5 separate regions of the Homo sapiens genome follow, and regions 2, 3, 4 and 5 are each linked to region 1. The links are contacts of gene promoters, found by promoter capture Hi-C in blood cells and fetal thymus (Javierre and others, 2016). All regions are on one chromosome and are shown on one strand. The core of a region is centred on a gene start or on the middle of the fragment in contact, and the rest is flanking DNA. Distances in the headings are between cores, read along the strand shown. Region 1 holds the start of ZNF433 (zinc finger protein 433). Region 2 has its middle 15 kb from the start of ZNF709. Region 3 has its middle 56 kb from the start of ZNF823. Region 4 has its middle 5.3 kb from the start of ZNF442. Region 5 overlaps ZNF442 (zinc finger protein 442).

Region 1 (3,319 bases), core at 535-3,034:
AGAATTATAACAGTGAGAAAATTATGACAGTGAAAGAGATCAGATCTAAGCGAACTCCATCTTTTCTTTAGCCTCCAAGCTACCCTTGTTCATTCCCGGGTATAGGTCTTACTAATATTGGAAGGAGTTTAGTTTAGCTTTAAAGCAAAAGTCATAACTGCCGCTTCCGTAAAGAAATTGTCTCCTTGCTTGGGAACCAGATTGCCTTTGTAAAACTAAGAAATTAGCCACAAGATTAGAAATTATGGTTCAGGAAATATGCGGCCAGAGTACACAAGATTCCCAACCTTCTCACTTGCTCCTGTGGATAATATTATTGTTGTAAGACCTAAGATTGGTGTTTGAGGTATTTTTGAGACCCTTCATTCTGATAAATTTGCTGGCATCACACAGACCAATAAACTGGCTCACCTGCTCCAGTGGCCCCTAGCCAAGAACTGACTCAGTGCAAGAAGACAGCTGAGACTTCCTGTGATATCCTTTTCGCGACCAATCAGCATTCCCCATTTTCCAGCCTTCTGCTCACCAAATTATCTTTAAAACCCTAGCCTCGGCCGGGTGCGGGGGCTCAGGCCTGTAATCCCAGCACTTTGGGAGGCCGAGGCGGGTGGATCATGAGGTCAGGAGTTTGAGACCAGCCTGACCAACATGGTAAACCCCGTCTCTACTAAAAATACAAAAATTAGCCGGGCATGGTGGCGCATGCCTGTAATCCCAGCTACTCAGGAGGTTGAGGCAGGAGAATCGCTTGAACCCGGGAGGCGGAGGTTGCACTGAGCCGAGATTGCGCCACTGCACTCCAGCATGGGCGACAGAGAGATTCCGTCTCAAAAAAAAACCAAAAAAACAAAACCTAGCCTCCCATTTTTTAGGGAGACAGAATTGAATAAAAATAAAACTCTTCTCTTTCATTTAGCCGGCTCTATGTATATTAAACTCCACTGCAATTCCCTGTCTTTTTTTTTTTTTTTTTTTTCGGAGACAGGGTCTCACTCTGACATCCAGGCTGGTAAAATCACAGCTCACTGTGGCCTCGACCTCTCTGGGCTCAGGCGATCCTCTCATTTCAGCCTTCCGAGTAGCTGGGACTGCAAACATGTACCACCACGCCCGACTAATTTTTGTATTTTTTGTAGAGGCGGGGTTTTGCTATGTTACCCAGGCTGGGCTTAAGTTCCTAGGCTCAAGCAATCTGCCTGCCTTGGCTTCCCAAAGTGGTGGGGTTACAGGCATGAGCTACCCCCACCCCCCCAGCCCACCGCCGGACGAGCTAAAGTTTCTATTCAACAGTACTCTATGGCAGGGGTCCCCAACCCCCGGTCCATGGCCTGTAAGGAACCAGTCCGCACAGCAGGAGGTGAGCGGCTGGCGGGCGAGCCAGCGGGCATTATCGCCAGAGATATGCTTCCTGTCAGATCAGCAGAGGCATTAGTCTGTCATAGGAGCCCGAACCCTATTGTGAGCTGCACATGCGAGGGATCTAGGTTGGGTTCGCCTTATGAGGATAAAATGCCTGATCTGAGGTGGAAGTTTCATTCCGAAACTATCTGCCCCCGTAGGAGAACTGTCTTCCACGAAACCGGTTCTGGTGCTAAAAAGGTTACAGACCTCTGGCTTAAAGAATCTATCGCTGGATCCGGTCAAACCCGTTTTCAGAGCCCCGTTACCAAGGGCTTCTATTGTCACTCACGGCTGAGGGGGCGGGGCCCGGCGCTTCGTCCAATCAGGGGCGCTGGGCGGGGCCTGCCGAGTGTCCATCGGGGAGGGCGAAGGCCCTGCTCTCCTCGGTTCCCGGCTCCAGGCGGCGAGCTGAGGTTGGGAGCCTGGCTTTCCCCTCCGAGAGGGTTCAGGTGCCTCTGCCATAGCTTCTGTCGCCTGTGCTGTGACCCGCACTGGTCGTGGGAGTCACCTGAAAGGCAAGAAATGGTGAGCGTGCGGGCCAGGGGTCCCGAGGCGGGGGAGGAGCTGGTTGGAACCGGCCGGAACCGGCTGTGGTGGGACCCGGGCCTCCCCGCGGCGACTCCGGGGTCTGGGACCCGATTTCCCGTGGGACAGCTCGGCCCTTGGTCCCCTTGGCCCCACAGTGGGGCTGGGCCGGCCGCCGGGACCCGGGCGTCTCGTCCTGTCCCTGCGCGGTGACTGTCACCCAGTTCCCAGAGCCCTCTCTGGGCAGCTCCGCGCCCGCTGCCCCGCGTCTCCCCACATTGTGCGGGGACTACGCGAGGGTCATGGGGGGATCCCGCCTCGGGTGTGGGGGTTTGTGTAGGAGGAGGGTGGGCTGTGGGGTCCCCAGTAGCGCCTTTCTCCTCTTAAAAATTAAACTGAGACACGTTAACAATTATAGTTTTGCTTCTCAGAATAGGTTTTAAAAAATATATTAATAATTAGAGTTCCTTTGAGATTCCTGAATGATAAACACCCAGTCCTGGCTTGTAATTTGTTAACGGAAAATGCCAAGCTGTGTAAAATAACTTAAAGAAGTTTATTCAGAGCCGAATAGGAGAGGCCTCAGCTGAGGAAAACACAACCCCAGGAGGCCTGAAGTAAGTGGTCCCGAGGCGGCTCAAGACTGTTTTTATTCATTTCAGGGAGACAGGAATTGCAGGGAGAATCATGCATCAATGCCTGGAAAGGTGTAAGTTCCTTTGGCAGAAAGGGCGGGACCTGTGGAAGGGGGGTTAGAAGGTGCAGGTGGTTGAGGGATTCTGAAGGTGGCCGTTGGTGGAGAGTGTGAAGCTTTGTCTAAAACTTCGAGGCGGTAGGAAGGATTGCTTAAGTGAAGAGGGTCTGGTATCTGTCATATGATTTCATCCCACCCAAAACAAAAGACCTGTTTCTTTAGATTTTGTGAATTCTAAGATTTGACTTACCTCTTGCCTTGCATGGCCTTAGGTCTTGTTTGTAATTTGGTTTCTTATTGTCACAGAGAGTCTGTGTTTCCAGTTGGCTGATGTCTGTTTTAACATGAAGGTGGGTCAGTGGCTATGTGGAAACTCCTAAAGGAAGCGGGTATAATGAGGCCTGTCCAGGTATAGTGAAGCCTGTCTGATGGTTAATCTGTAGTCAAGTGTGGGAGGGTTCCAGCTGGCTCTTTCCAGTGTCAGGTGACTCAATTCCAGAGTCACATTACTTTAAACTTCAAGATAATTTAGAGTTCCAACAGCTTCAATTTTTGAATTACTTATTTTCACAGACCATACAGTGGAAAATTTTTGGTTGTATAATCAGAGGTTACTCGACCAATTGTACCTGGTTAAGCCCATATTTCATTTCCCAATAAATTAGTAACTTGTTATTGTTTTCTCAGGCCACATACCGT
Region 2 (3,319 bases), core at 416-2,915, 460 kb before region 1:
CCCTCCCTTTTGGAGTTTAGGCACAACTGACCAGCATTAATGTTAAAATAGAGACCATAAAACTAACAAAACTCTTTATGACAATAAGATACCAAATTATAAATAAGACCTAAGGCCATGCTCTCCAAGGGTTAAGTCACAAACTCTAGGTCATTCCGACCCAGTGTATTGGTTAACAGATTTTCTTATCTTTTTTTTTTTTTTTTTGAGACAGGGTCTCTTGCTTTGTCACCCAGGCTGGAGTACAGTGACATAATCACTGCTCACCACAGCTTGGACCTCCCAGGCTCAAGTGATCCATGTAGTGGGGAATATAGGCATATGCTGCCACACCCAGCTAATCGTTTTTACTTTTTTTTTTTTTTTTTTTTTTTGAGATGGAGTCTCACTCTGTCGCCCAGGCTAGAGTGCAGTGGTGCAGTCTTGGCTCACTGCAAGCTCCACCTCCCAGGTTTACGCCATTCTCCTGCCTCAGCCTCCTGCGTAGCTGGGACTACAGGCGCCCGCCACCACGTCCAGCTAATTTTTTGTATTTTTAGTAGAGACGGGGTTTCACCGTGTTAGCCAGGATGGTCTCGATCTCCTGACCTCATGATCCGCCCTCCTCGGCCTCCCAACGTGCTGGGATTACAGGCGTGAGCTGCTGCGCCCGACCTCATTTTTACTTTTTTTTTTAGATGGAGTCTCGTTCTGTCACCCAGGCTGGAGTGCAGTGGCGCAATCTCAGCTTACTGCAACCTCCACCTCCCGGGCTCAAGGGATTCTTCTGCCTCAGCCTCCCAAATAGTTGGGACCACAGGCACACACACCACACCTAGCTAATTTTTGTATTTTTAGTAGAGACAGGGTTTCACCATGTTGGCCAGGATGGTCTTGAACTCCTGGCCTCAAGTAATCCACCTGCCTTGGGCTCCCAGAGTGTTGGGATTACAGGCATAAGCCACTGTCCCCAGCCTAATGCAATCTGTGTGCCACAGCCTCCCAAAGTGCTGGGATTATAGGCTCCTGAGCCCAGCTGTCTTCCTTAAACATTCCTTTTTTTTTTTTGAGACAAAGTTTCGCTCTTATTGCCCAGGCTGGAGTGCGATGGCATGATCTCACCACAACCTCCGCCTCCCAGGTTCAAGTGATTCTCCTGCCTCAGCTTCCCGAGTAGCTGGGATTACAGGCGCCACCACCACGCTTGGCTAATTTTATATTTTTAGTAGAGACAGGGTTTCTCCATGTTGGCCAGGCTGGTCTCGAACTCCTGACCTCAGGTGATCCACCCGCCTCGGCCTCCCATAGTGCTGCGATTACAGGCATAAGCCACCGCGCCCGGCCCAAACATTCATTCTTATCTAATGACTCCAAATGTTTACTCCTTTAGCCAACTGTAAATCAAAGAACCTCTGAGTCTACCTATAACCTGTAAGCCCCCGCTTCAAGATATTCTACCTTTTCAGGCCAAATCAATGCCTACCTTCCATGTACTGATTTATGTCTGCCTGCAACTCCTGTCTTTCTAAAATGCATAAAACCAAACTGTAGCTGGGTGCTGTGGCTCGTGCCTGTAATCCCAGCACTTTGGAAGGCTGAGGCCAGCAGATCACTTGAGGCCAGGAGTTCAAGACCAGCCTGGCCAACAGGGCAAAACCCCATCTCTACTAAAAATACAAAAAATTTAGCCAGGCATGGTGACGCAGGCCTGTAATCCCAGCTACTTAGGAGGCTGAGGCACAACAATTGCTTGAACCTGGGAGGCTGAGGTTGCAGTGAGCTGAGATTGTGCCACTGCACTCCAGCCTGGGCGACAGAGTGAGACCCTGTCTCAAAAATACCAAATAACTGTAACCTGGCTGCCACTGGTGCACTTTCTCAGGACTTCTTGAGACTGCGTTTTCTGGGCCGTGGTCACTCATACTGACTCAGAATAAAGCCTTAAAATATTTGAGAGTTTGGTGATTCCATTGACAGTGGGCAGCTGTTAGAAAGAAGAGGGGGGTTGACACTGAATCTGCCAACAGTCAAATACCAGAAAGGGTGGAGTCCAACTACTCATTACAAGAGCAAACATGGATAAGAAAAACATGCATTTGCAATTGCTTGTTTTTGTTGTTGTTGTTGTGTGAGACGGAGTTTCACTCTTGTTGCCCAGGCTGGAGTGCAATAGCGTAATCTCAGCTTACCACAACCTCAGTCTCCTGGGTTCTAGTGATTCTCCTGCCTCAGCCTCCCGAGTAGCTGGGACTACAGGCGCCCGCCTCCTGAGTAGCTGGGACTACAGGCACCCGCCACCACGCTCAGCTAATTTTGTATTTTTAGTAGAGACAAGGGTTCTCCATGTTGGTCAGGCTGGTCTCGAACTCCAGACCTCAGGTAATCCGCCTGCCTCGGCCTCCCAAAGTGCTGGGAATACAGGTGTGAGCCACCGCGCCTGGCCTGCAATTGCTTGTTTTAATAAAGAAACACTAATAGGATGCACAAGGAATTACCAAAAGTTTTTACGAAGGGCGGGGTGGCTGGAGCAAGAATCCTGGAATGAACCAGGATATGCTTGACAGTGAGTCTTATGTTAGATTTTCCTGTCTCATAGATTTTTTTTTTTAACCTTCACATGTATTATCTCTCTAAAATGAATGGAGGCCTGGTGCAGTGGCTCACACTTGTAATCCCAGCACTTTGGGAGGCCGAGCTAGGAGGATCACTTGAACTCAAGAGTTCAAGACCAGCCCGGGCAACCCTGCCGGTTGGTGAAACCCTGCCTCTACAAAAAATACAAAAATTAGCCAGGCATGGTGGTATGTGCCTGTAGTTCCAGCTACTCAGGAGGCTGAGTTGGGAGGATCACTTGAGCAGGGGAGGCTGAGGCTGCAGTGAGCTATGATCGATCGTGCCACTGTACTCCATCCTGGGTGACAGAGCAAGACCCTGTCTAAAAATATACATTAAAAAGGCCGGGCACGGTGGCTCACGCCTGTAATCCCAGCACTTTGGGAGGCCGAGGCAGGCAGATCACCTGAGGTCAGGAGTTCGAGACCAGCCTGACCAACATGGAGAAACCCCATCTCTACTAAAAATACAAAAAGATTAGCTGGGCATGGTGGCACATGCCTGTAATCCCAGCTACTCGGGAGGCTGAGGCAGGAGAATCACTTGAACCTGGGAGGTGGAGGTTGCTGTGAGCCAAGATTGTGCCATTGCACTCCAGCCTGGGCAACAAGAGTAAAACTCCGTCTCAAAAAAAATAAAAAATAAAAAAATAAAATGAACGAAGATATTTATCTGCACTATATTTTACTATTAAAGTCTTTAAATAATGTAGTTTTTTTTAAATTTT
Region 3 (3,319 bases), core at 413-2,912, 350 kb after region 1:
GTTTCACCATGTTGCCCAGGCTGGTCTTGAACTCCTGGGCTCAAGCAATCTGCCTCCCTTGACCTCCCAAAGTGCTGGGATTACAGGTGTGAGCCACCATGCCCAGCCTGGAAAATTTTTTCTAAAAATGAATGAATTTGAAGCTGGGCTGCTTCATTTTCTTTGCTTGCTTTTAACATTTGTTGTCATTCTAACAATATCTTAAGGGACATAGCTCTAGGTTGTAAGTGCAAATGACCTTAGATTTCTTTTGGAATTATTGTACTGATCTTCAATGATCTGGTCTTCACATTTTATTCCTAAAATGCAGACCCATAAAAGTCATCATAAGTTATTACAAAATTATAGAAAAATTATTAGATTCTATGTTCATGGGACACTGTGGCCATGGCTGATTTATTCACCAAAGTTCAGTTGAACCTTGACCAACATGGTTTTGAACTGCACAGTTCACTCATGCACATTTTCATCAGCTCTTGCCATCTCTAAGAGAGCAAGACCAAACCCTCCTTTTTTGCTCAGGTTACTCAATATGAAGACAACCAAGGAAGAACACCTTGATAATCTACTTGCACTTACTAAAGTCAACATATCTTCTCTTCTAATTTTTTTGATAACCTTTTCAAAAGAAAAGCTTACTGTATTATAAGAATACAGTACATAACATACCAAACAGGCTTGGCATGGTGGCTCATGCCTGTAATCCCTGCACTTTGGGATGCTAGGGAGGAGGAATGCTTGAGGCCAGGAGTTCACGACCCTCCACCTTACAAAAAAATTATACAAAAATTAGCTGGGGATGGTGGCACTCGCCTCTAGACCTAGCAAGGGACCCTGTCTTAAACATATATACACATACGCACTTTTTTTTTTTTTGAGACGGAGTCTCTCTCTCTTGCCCAGGCTAGAGTGCAGTGGCGTGGTCTTGGCTCACTGCAACCTCTGCCTCCCAGGTTCAAGTGATTCTCCTCCCTTACCCTCCCAGGTAGCTGGGATTACAGGTGCATGCCACCACACCAAGCTAATTTTTGTATTTTTAGTAGAGATGGGGTTTCACCACGTTGGCCAGGCTGGTCTCAAACTCCTGACATCAAGTGATGCACCTGCCTCAGCCTTCTAAAGTGATGGGATTACAGGCGCAAGTCACCATGCCCAGCCACACACAGAGTGAGACAAGGACTCACTCTGTTGCCCAGGCTAAACTGTAGTGGTGCAATCATGGTTCACTGCAAGCTCAACCTCCCCAGTTCAAGCGAACCTACTGCCTCAACCTTCTGAATAGCTAGGAACACAGGTGTGCCACCATCCATGGCTACTTTTTTTATTTTTTATACAGACAGGGTATCACTTCATTGCTACAGCCAGTCTCAAAATCCTGAGCTCAAGCAATCCTCCCACTTCAGCCTCCCAAAGTACTGGAATTACAGGTGTGAGCCCCCACACCTGGCCATATATATGTATATAGATATATACCAAACATACAAAATGTATTAATTGACTTTCTGTTATCAATACAGCTTTGGTCAACAGCAGTCTATTAGTAGTTAACTCTTTAGGGACTCTAAATTCACAGGCACCTAACAGACTGTGTGGACGATCAGAGTCTCTAACCCCCACCTTGTTCAAGGGTCTGCTGTATTCCCTACCATGTTCCAAATCATTGAGCAATGCAGAAGACCAAGAAACACTTGTTCTATAATTGACTAAGTGAAGAAATGATGTCACCCTTACCTACAGACATCAGGTTCCTGAAGGTTTCCCACATCACATCTCTGTAGAGATTCTTCTGGGAAGGACCCAGCAAAGCCCACTCCTCCTGGGTGAAGTTCACAGCCACATCCTCAAAGGTCACTGAGTCCTGAAACATCCCACATGGCAGAGGAGGAAGGTTCAGACCAACAGCATTAGGAATCTATACTCACTTCAGAAGTTCACACGATGCTGTGGACTCCAAAAATTTATTCAATGACTTGGTCAGCCTCTTGTCTTCTGTCTACACTCACTTTCTCCATCACAGCAATTCTGATGCTAGAATTGAATATATTCAGTAAAGTGACAGCCAACAAGGACATGCCTCTCATTGGTGATTTCAGAGACTGAGATATGCTGCCTGGATCACCTCTAGTGTCTCTCTGTATAGTGGGTCAGTATTACCTCTCATGAGAAAGTCCCAAACATACTGTCTATAAGAGACAAATTAGCAGTTCTGAGACTGCATATTCTTACACGTTTATTTAGAAAGTTGAACTTTGATGGTATCTAGGGGCTAGATTTGGGAAGATCTGCACCAACATAACTAATAAATGGGGTTGTGTGTGCCTTAACTACTTATGCAAACAATATGGTATTTGCCTAATTCCCATTTTCCCTCTGAGAGTGTGGTATTTTCAGCAGAAGCAGTGTACCTAATCAGCCCTTGCTAAGTGTGAATAATTTCCCCTTCCAAAACTCATAACGAAATTTGATCCCCAATGTGTCAGTACTGAAAGCAGGGCCCTTTAAGAGGCATGAGGGCTCTGCCTCATGAATGGATTAATCCACTGACGAATTGAAGAGGTAATGAATGAATGGGTTATCCTACAAATAAGACTTGTGGCCTTGTAAGAAGAGAAAGAGACCAGAGTTAGCACAATCAGCCCCCGTGCCTAGTGATCTCCACTGCCTCAGACAGTAAAGAGCAAGAAGCTTTCACCAGATGTACCCCATTTGCCCTTGGATTTCCAAACTTTGAGAATTGTACAAAATAAGTATTTTTTATATATTAACCCAAATTCAGGGTTTTTTGTTTTTTTTTGTTTTTGGAAACAGTCTTGCTCTGTTGCACAGGCTGGAATGCAGGGGGGGCAATCTTGGCTCACTGCAGCCTCGACCTCCCAGTTCAAGTAATTCCCATGCTTCAGCCTCCCAAGTAGCTGGGATTACAGGCATGCATGACCATGCCCGGCTTTGTTTTTATATTTCAGTAGAGATGGGGTTTCACCATGTTGGCTGAGCTGGTCACAAACTCCTGGTCTCAAATGATCCACCTGCCTCAGCCTCCCAAAGTGTTGGGATTACAGGCACGAGCCACCGCGCCCAGCCAAATTTCAGGTATTCTATTACAACTAACAGAAAACAAGAGCCATGAAAAAATACTCTGGGCACAGAGTCTGTAATGCGTGACCCTGGCAGGTAACATTTCACATGTTAATCACCACCACATGTTATTTGGGTGACATAGCCCATCCTGTGTGATTACAATGAAAGAGAACATCTGTACAAGAGGTCCTGAAGGGAGTGCTAAATATGGAAAGAAAAAACCATTACCAGCCACCACAAA
Region 4 (3,319 bases), core at 417-2,916, 340 kb before region 1:
TACATCTTACTTTCAGAAAAAAACACATCAAGGTGAGAGAATTCTGTAAATAAGTTCTCTTGACACATAAATTCATGAGTTGAATAGGTAGTGTTTTTTGATGAAATCAGTTAATAAAAATTTGTCTTTTATATTCCTCTAGATGATTGCATTGATTGAAGTGTATTTCTTTTTTCTCTTTTTTTTTTTGGAGATGGAGTCTTGCTCTTGTCACCTAGGCTGGAGTGCAGTGGTGCTATCTGGGCTCACTGCAACCTCCACCTCCTAGGTTCAAGCGATTCTCCTGCCTCAGCCTCCCAAGTAGCTGGGATTACAGGCGCCCGCCACCATGTCTGGATAATTTTTTTGTATTTTTAGTAGAGATGGGGTTTCACCATGTTGGCCAGGCTGGTCTCAAACTCCTGACCTCAGGTAATCCGCCCACCTTGGCCTCCCAAAGTGCTGGGATTACAGGTGTGAGCCTCCACCCCCGGCCTCTGCATGTATGTCTTCTTTGGAAAAATGTCTATTCATGTCCTTTGACTATTTTTTAATGGTGGTGTTTGTTTTTCTCTTGTAAATTTCTTTGTTTCTTATAGGTGGTAGATATTAGACCTTTGTCAGATGTATAGTTTGAAGATGTTTTTCCTATTTTGTAGGTTGTCTGTTTACTCTGTTGATAGTTCCTTTTGCTGTACAGAAGCTCTTAAATTTAATTAGATCCCACTTGTCAATGTTTTCTTTTGTTGCAATTGCTTTTGTTGTCTTTGCCATGAAATGTTTGCCTGTTCCTGTGTACAGGATGGTATTGCCTAGGTTTTCTTCCAGGGTGTTTATAGTTTGAGGTTTTACATTTAAGTCTTTATCCATCCTGAGTTGATTTTTGTATATGGTGTAAGGAAGGGGTCCAGCTTCAGTCTTCTGCCTATGGCTAGCCAGTTAAACCATAACCATTTATTGAATAGGAAGTCTTTTCCCCATTGCTTGATTTTGTCAGCTTTGTCCAAGATCAGGTGGTCATAGGTGTGTGGCCTTATTTCTGGACTCCATTCTATTCTGAATTTTTTCCTCATGGTTATATGAGTGTTTATTTTTGTCTGGAAGCTTTTGTAAGAATTTAAATCAACACAGTAATGAACTAGTTAATTGCTGCAATTTGTAAAAATATGCAAAATCTGAACATAAACCCCTGACACCACCTTTGACCCACTGCACCCTGTTTTCACAACTGTCTAGGAAAAAGTAAGTATATAATATTACTCCAAAGGCAGTTAATGTGAAAGGTTGATGAAGCATCTTACAGAAAGATGGTTGATTCTTCAGAGAGAGAACAGTCTTGTGATAATAGATTGTGAGTGTGTGTGTGCATGTGTGTGTAATTTTTAAAGGCATGAATATCATTCATTAGTTATAATCAGACATCTTTTTTTTCTTGTTTTTCAAACTTGCCAATTTGTCTTGTCAGGAAACACTACAATTATCACAAGTTGATTCAGGATTTTGTTTCATTGAATTACACTTGATGTTTGGCTTCTTTCTTTTTAGCCATGGGTTCCAGCTTCCAATTCATGATGCTTTTATATCTGGTACTTTTGTTACTGGGCCAGTCCTGGAAAAATAGCTGAGAAAGCAAAACAGCTGAAATGGCTAATTATTTTCTTTTTCTTTTCTTTCTTTTCTTTCTTTTTTTTTTTTTTTGAGATGGGGTCTCACTCTGTTGCCCAGGCTGGAGTGCAATGGTGCGGTCTTGGCTCACTGCAACCTCCGCCTTCCGGGTTGAAGCGACTCTCCTGCCTCAGCCTCCCGAGTAGCTGGGATTACAGGCGCCCACCACCACACCCAGATAATTTTTGTATTTTTAGTAGAGACGGGGTCTCACCGTGTTGGCCAGGCTGATCTTGAACTCCTGACCTCGTGATTCACCTGCCTCGGCCTGCCAAGGTGCTGGGATTACAGGCGTGAGCCACCATGCCCAGCCGCTAATTATTTTCTGAAAAAGTGGATAACATTTTTTTTTCCTAGTCTGTTTATCTTTAGGTATGCTAGCTTACTAGGACTCCAGATGGCCTGGGAGCTTCAGGACCCTTTGCCAATTATCAGAATAAGATAAGGCCTGCTCAAAACCAGAGTAAACCAGAACCAGTGACCCCTTGTTGCCTTTAGATCAGGGATCCCCAATCCCTGGGCCATGGATCGGTACCAGACTGTGGCCTGTTAGGAGCTAGGCCACACAGCAGAAGGTGAGCAGCGGGCGAGTAAGCAAAGCTTTACCTGTATTTACAGCCACTTCCCATCACTCACATTACTACCTGAGCTCTGCCTTCTGTCATATCAGAGGCAGCATTAGATTCTCATAGGAGCACGAACCCTATTGTGAGCTGCGCACACAAGGGATCCAGGTTGCATGCACCTTATGAGATTCTGGAAGATCTGTCACTGTCTCCCACCACCCCCAGAAGGGACCATCTAGTTGCAGGAAAACAAGCTCAGGGCTCCCACTGATTCTATAGTATGGCGAGCTGTACAATTACATCATTATATATTACAATGTAATAATATTTAAGTGCACAATCAATGTAATGTACTTGAATCACCCCAAAACCATCCCCACTCCAGTACATGGAAAAATTATCTTCTAAGAAACTAGTCCCTGTGCCAAAAAGGTTAGGAACTGCTGGTTTAGATCACTGATACCTTATTGTAAGATGAAAATCCCCACCCACAGAAGAAAGTCACGGCAGCTTTCTCGTCGTGTTTTTTTTTTTTTAGATGGAGTCTAGCTTTGTCGCCAGGCTGGAGTGCAGTGACACGATCTCAGCTCACTGCAACTTCTGCCTCCTGGGTTCAAGTGATTCTCCTGCCTCAGCCTCCTGAGTAGCTGGGATTACAGGCATGCACCACCACGCCCAGCTAATTTTTATTTTATTTTATTGTTTTAGTAGAGACGGGGTTTCACTATGTTACCCAGGATGGTCTCGATCTCCTGACCTCGTGATCCGCCTGCCTCAGCCTCCCAAAGTGCTAGGATTACAGGTGTAAGCCACTGCGCCCGGCCCATTGTTTTGTTTTGAGATGGAGTTTCGCTCTTGTTGCCCAGGCTGGAGTGCTCACTGCAACCCCTGCCTCCTGGGTTCAAGCGATTCTCTTGCCTCAGCCTCCCAAGTAGCTGGGATTATAGGCGTGCACCACCATGCCTGGCTAATTTCGTATTTTTAGTAGAGATGGGGTTTCTCCATGTCGGTCAGGCTGGTTTCAAACTCCCGACCTCAGGTGATCCACCCGCCTCGGCCTCCCAAAGTGCTGGGATTACAGGCGTGAGCCACTGCACCCGGCTGGCCTT
Region 5 (3,319 bases), core at 340-2,839, 310 kb before region 1:
CTTTCTCAACATAGAAGGACTCACATGGCTGAAAAACCTTATGAATGTAAAACATGTAAGAAAGCCTTCAGTCATTTTGGTAACTTAAAAGTCCATGAAAGGATTCACACTGGAGAGAAGCCATATGAATGTAAGGAATGCAGGAAAGCATTCTCTTGGCTCACTTGCCTTCTGCGACATGAAAGAATTCACACTGGAAAGAAATCTTATGAATGTCAACAATGTGGTAAAGCCTTCACTCGTTCTCGTTTCCTTCGAGGACATGAAAAAACTCACACTGGAGAGAAGATGCATGAATGTAAGGAATGTGGGAAGGCACTGAGTTCTCTCAGTTCCTTGCATAGACATAAAAGGACTCACTGGAGAGATACTCTATAAATGTGGAAAAGCATTCATTAATTTTATTTCATTTCAGAAACGTGAAAGAAATCACATAGGAGATAAGCCTCATGAATGCAAACACATGGTAAAGCCTTAAGATGTTTCTTTTGAATATGGTTATCCCCTAACCATATGCAGGGGATTGGTTCCAGACCCCCTAAGCATACCTAAATCCACAGATGCTGTGTTCCTTTTATAAAAGGACATTTGCATGTAACCTATCCACATCCTCCTGCATCCCATAAATCATGCCTAGATTACTTAATTTTTCACCAACCCAAAGCTTTTGTAAAAGTAAAAATAAAAAGTAGGTTACTAAAATACCTCATGTGTTGTAAAAGCTATGTAAACAGTCATTTTATTGTATTTTTTTTAGAGAATCGTGATATGAAAATAATCCTGTGCTGTTGAGAACAGACCCAACCATCACAGGCCTGCCTACATAGTACATGTCACCTAGAATGTTACAGTTTCTTTTTTTCTTTTTTTTTTTTTTAAGACAGAGTTTCACTCTTATTGCCCAGGCTGGAGGGCAATGGCACAATCTCAGCTCACTGCATCCTCTGCCTCCCGGGTTCAAGCAATTCTCCTGTCTTAGCCTCCTGAGTAGCTGGGATTACAGATGCATGCCACCACACCCAGCTAATTTTTTTTTTTTTTTTTTTTTTTTTGTATTTTTAGTAGAGACGGGGTTTCATCATATTGGTCAGGCTGGTCTCGAACTCCTGACCTCAGATGATCTGCCTGCCTTGGTCTCCCAAAGTGCTGGGATTACAGGCATGAGCCTGTAATCTACAGTTTCTTTTTTTTCAACAATCATAGATTGCTTTTATTTAATGACCTGGAATCGTGTGTTAACACTTATGAAAATCCTGATCCTTCTTGCTTGATAACCCAAGGATGATGATGATGATCATGATCATGATGATGCTGATTACAGTATGGTGCCTAATATGATTCACTGAGGTGACTAGATGGGTGGCACTGTAGATAAACAGTGAGACATCAGGCTCACTTGAATCTTGACAGGATGTCAGGATGATCATCTGTGTTGGATGAACCAGGTTCTGATTGCAGATGCTGAGTTTGGAAGAGACTAAATAATACTAATGTCAGAATCTGTTCAGCATGAGGGCTGAAGATGTGTACACACTGAAGGATCTGTCTTCATATTTGCAGATATTTAGTTAGAAACATTGTTGTAGGAAGCTGGTTCTTTTTCTTTAAATATCCTTGCAGTGTTTGTTGGCATGTTATCCCTTGGGTGACACAGAGGTTTTGTTCCATTGAAGGATCTTACTTGAGGATGGCAATCTTTATTTTATTTTTATTTTTATTTATTTATTTATCATTTGAGACTGAGTTTCGTTCTTATTGCCCAGTCTGGAGTGCAGTGGCGCGATCTCGACTCACTGCAACCTCCACCTCCCAGATTCAAGCGATTCTCCTGCCTCAGCCTCCAGAGTAGCTGGGATTACAGGCACTCGCCACCATGCCTGGCTAATTTTTATTTTTAGTAGAGATGGGGTTTCACCATGTTGGTCAGGCTGGTCTCGAACTCCTGACCTCAGGTGATCCACCTGCCTCGGCCTCCCAAAGTGCTGAGATTACAGGCATGAGCCACCGTGCCCTGCGAGGATTGTAATCTTTAATACTTTTCACCTTGCAGAGGCTGTAGATGCCCCAAAAACTGCTGCACATGTTTCAAGTGTCACATCTTTGATATTACCTCTTCTAAGTCTTCTGCATCATCATTATCATCATTATCTGCAGAGAATTTCAGTATATCTTCGAGTTCCTTGTTAGTATTTATGCTCTCTTATTTGTGTTGGGATAGAAAGATTAAGGAAAGGAGAGATGAGAAGGTGGCTCAACAGTTGAGACAGTTTTATTGGGAGTAAACCTGAGAAGGGCTTCCAGCGGCAGGGTCAGGTGCAAACTTCTCTTACAGCCTGAGGCTTTTTTAAAGGGCCCAGTGGAGAAGTGTGCTTTGAAACAAAATTCTGTTAGGGAGGGGTTGGGGAAGTCCTGGCTGTTCTGTTACAGTTAGGGCCGTTATTCTCTGTTGAAGTTATGGGCGGGGCTGACATTTTCAGTTTTGGCCAGGTGGCCAAATAGAAACTTAAAGCTTAGGATGGTGGAGTGTTATAAAGATGGCGGTGCTCTTGTCCTGTCAATGTGTTCCTCAATAAAGTCTTCAAGCATGTCATAGATTGTTTTCCCCACCAACCTCCCTTGCAGCATTTGAGATATTCCTGATACTTCATCAATAGTGGAGAAGCTCCTGAAATCATTGACTTCCTCACTCCATAATGGTTTCCAACACCCAATGAAGTAGTAGGAGGAAAACATGGGTTTCTTCTCCTGGAAGCCTCCAGAAGAAGGTATTTCAATATGGGGAGAGTGGTCAGCTGTGTCACAGGTCACTGAGAATTTGAATAAGACAAGGAAAAAGGGTTGACTGTAGATTTTGGCAAGTATTTGGTCACTGGGGGCCTTGATAAGAGCTGTTTCATTGAAGTATTCATGAGAATAACTTGTAGTGAAATATATCTCAAATAGACCTCCACGATGTTGCCTAGAGGGCAGTGTTACCCTTTGAACTACCAACATTAACCACTGGAACTGCTCATCTGGAAGCCTCTTACAGTGCTGGTACAAACTAGAATACACAAAGGAAGGGATCATTTTATACGTGTTACTGTGCTACTTGCTCTATCTACTTAGTGTTCCATACATGTAATTACCTATTCCATCCTATCCCAAAGTACTGAAAATCTCCATTCTACTTTCTCTGTCTGTGAATTTGACTATTCATAGAGAGAGAGATATGTGGAAGTATGCATGTGTCCTTCCATGTCTGGCTTATTTCACTTAGAACGTTTTCAAGGTTTATCCATGTGGTAGCATGTATCAGGAACTCATTGTTTTTGTGTCT

The links. Contacts are between HindIII fragments. The CHiCAGO score rates a contact against its expected background, and 5 or more counts as called.
Region 2: a contact is called between a fragment that was not itself captured here and the fragment with the promoter of ZNF433 in region 1, in 7 of 17 cell types (M1 macrophages, non-activated CD4 T cells, endothelial precursors and 4 more). The highest score is 7.0, in M1 macrophages.
Region 3: a contact is called between a fragment that was not itself captured here and the fragment with the promoter of ZNF433 in region 1, in 1 of 17 cell types (naive CD8 T cells). The highest score is 5.5, in naive CD8 T cells.
Region 4: a fragment that was not itself captured here is called in contact with the fragment with the promoter of ZNF433 in region 1 in 9 of 17 cell types (total CD4 T cells, M0 macrophages, megakaryocytes and 6 more); the score reaches 8.3 in total CD4 T cells.
Region 5: a contact is called between a fragment that was not itself captured here and the fragment with the promoter of ZNF433 in region 1, in 2 of 17 cell types (erythroblasts and endothelial precursors). The highest score is 9.0, in erythroblasts.

The regions. Positions count from the first base shown.
Region 1 is chr19:12,034,144-12,037,462 of GRCh38, reverse strand. It overlaps ZNF433 (zinc finger protein 433), which reads left to right and starts at 1,784. Exons shown (of 4, transcript NM_001308348.2): 1 at 1,784-1,926. The coding sequence starts at 1,924. ZNF433-AS1 (ZNF433 and ZNF878 antisense RNA 1) reads right to left here. Exons shown (of 3, transcript NR_134929.1): 2 at 1,691-1,909. RefSeq lists silencers at 1,670-1,829, 2,070-2,119, 2,130-2,249. The HindIII fragment of the contact is 7,472 bases long and covers 1-2,738 here.
Region 2 is chr19:12,498,271-12,501,589 of GRCh38, reverse strand. No RefSeq gene overlaps it. Among named protein-coding and RNA genes, the nearest start is that of ZNF709, 15 kb to the right of the region's middle. The HindIII fragment of the contact is 4,354 bases long and covers 1-3,319 here.
Region 3 is chr19:11,681,085-11,684,403 of GRCh38, reverse strand. It overlaps the pseudogene ZNF833P. Among named protein-coding and RNA genes, the nearest start is that of ZNF823, 56 kb to the left of the region's middle. The HindIII fragment of the contact is 2,051 bases long and covers 637-2,687 here.
Region 4 is chr19:12,369,331-12,372,649 of GRCh38, reverse strand. It overlaps a transcript of ZNF442 not described here. Among named protein-coding and RNA genes, the nearest start is that of ZNF442, 5.3 kb to the right of the region's middle. The HindIII fragment of the contact is 1,161 bases long and covers 1,086-2,246 here.
Region 5 is chr19:12,346,760-12,350,078 of GRCh38, reverse strand. ZNF442 (zinc finger protein 442) reads left to right here. Exons shown (of 6, transcript NM_030824.3): 6 at 1-3,319. The coding sequence ends at 378. It also overlaps a transcript of ZNF563 not described here. Among named protein-coding and RNA genes, the nearest start is that of ZNF563, 15 kb to the right of the region's middle. The HindIII fragment of the contact is 1,845 bases long and covers 667-2,511 here.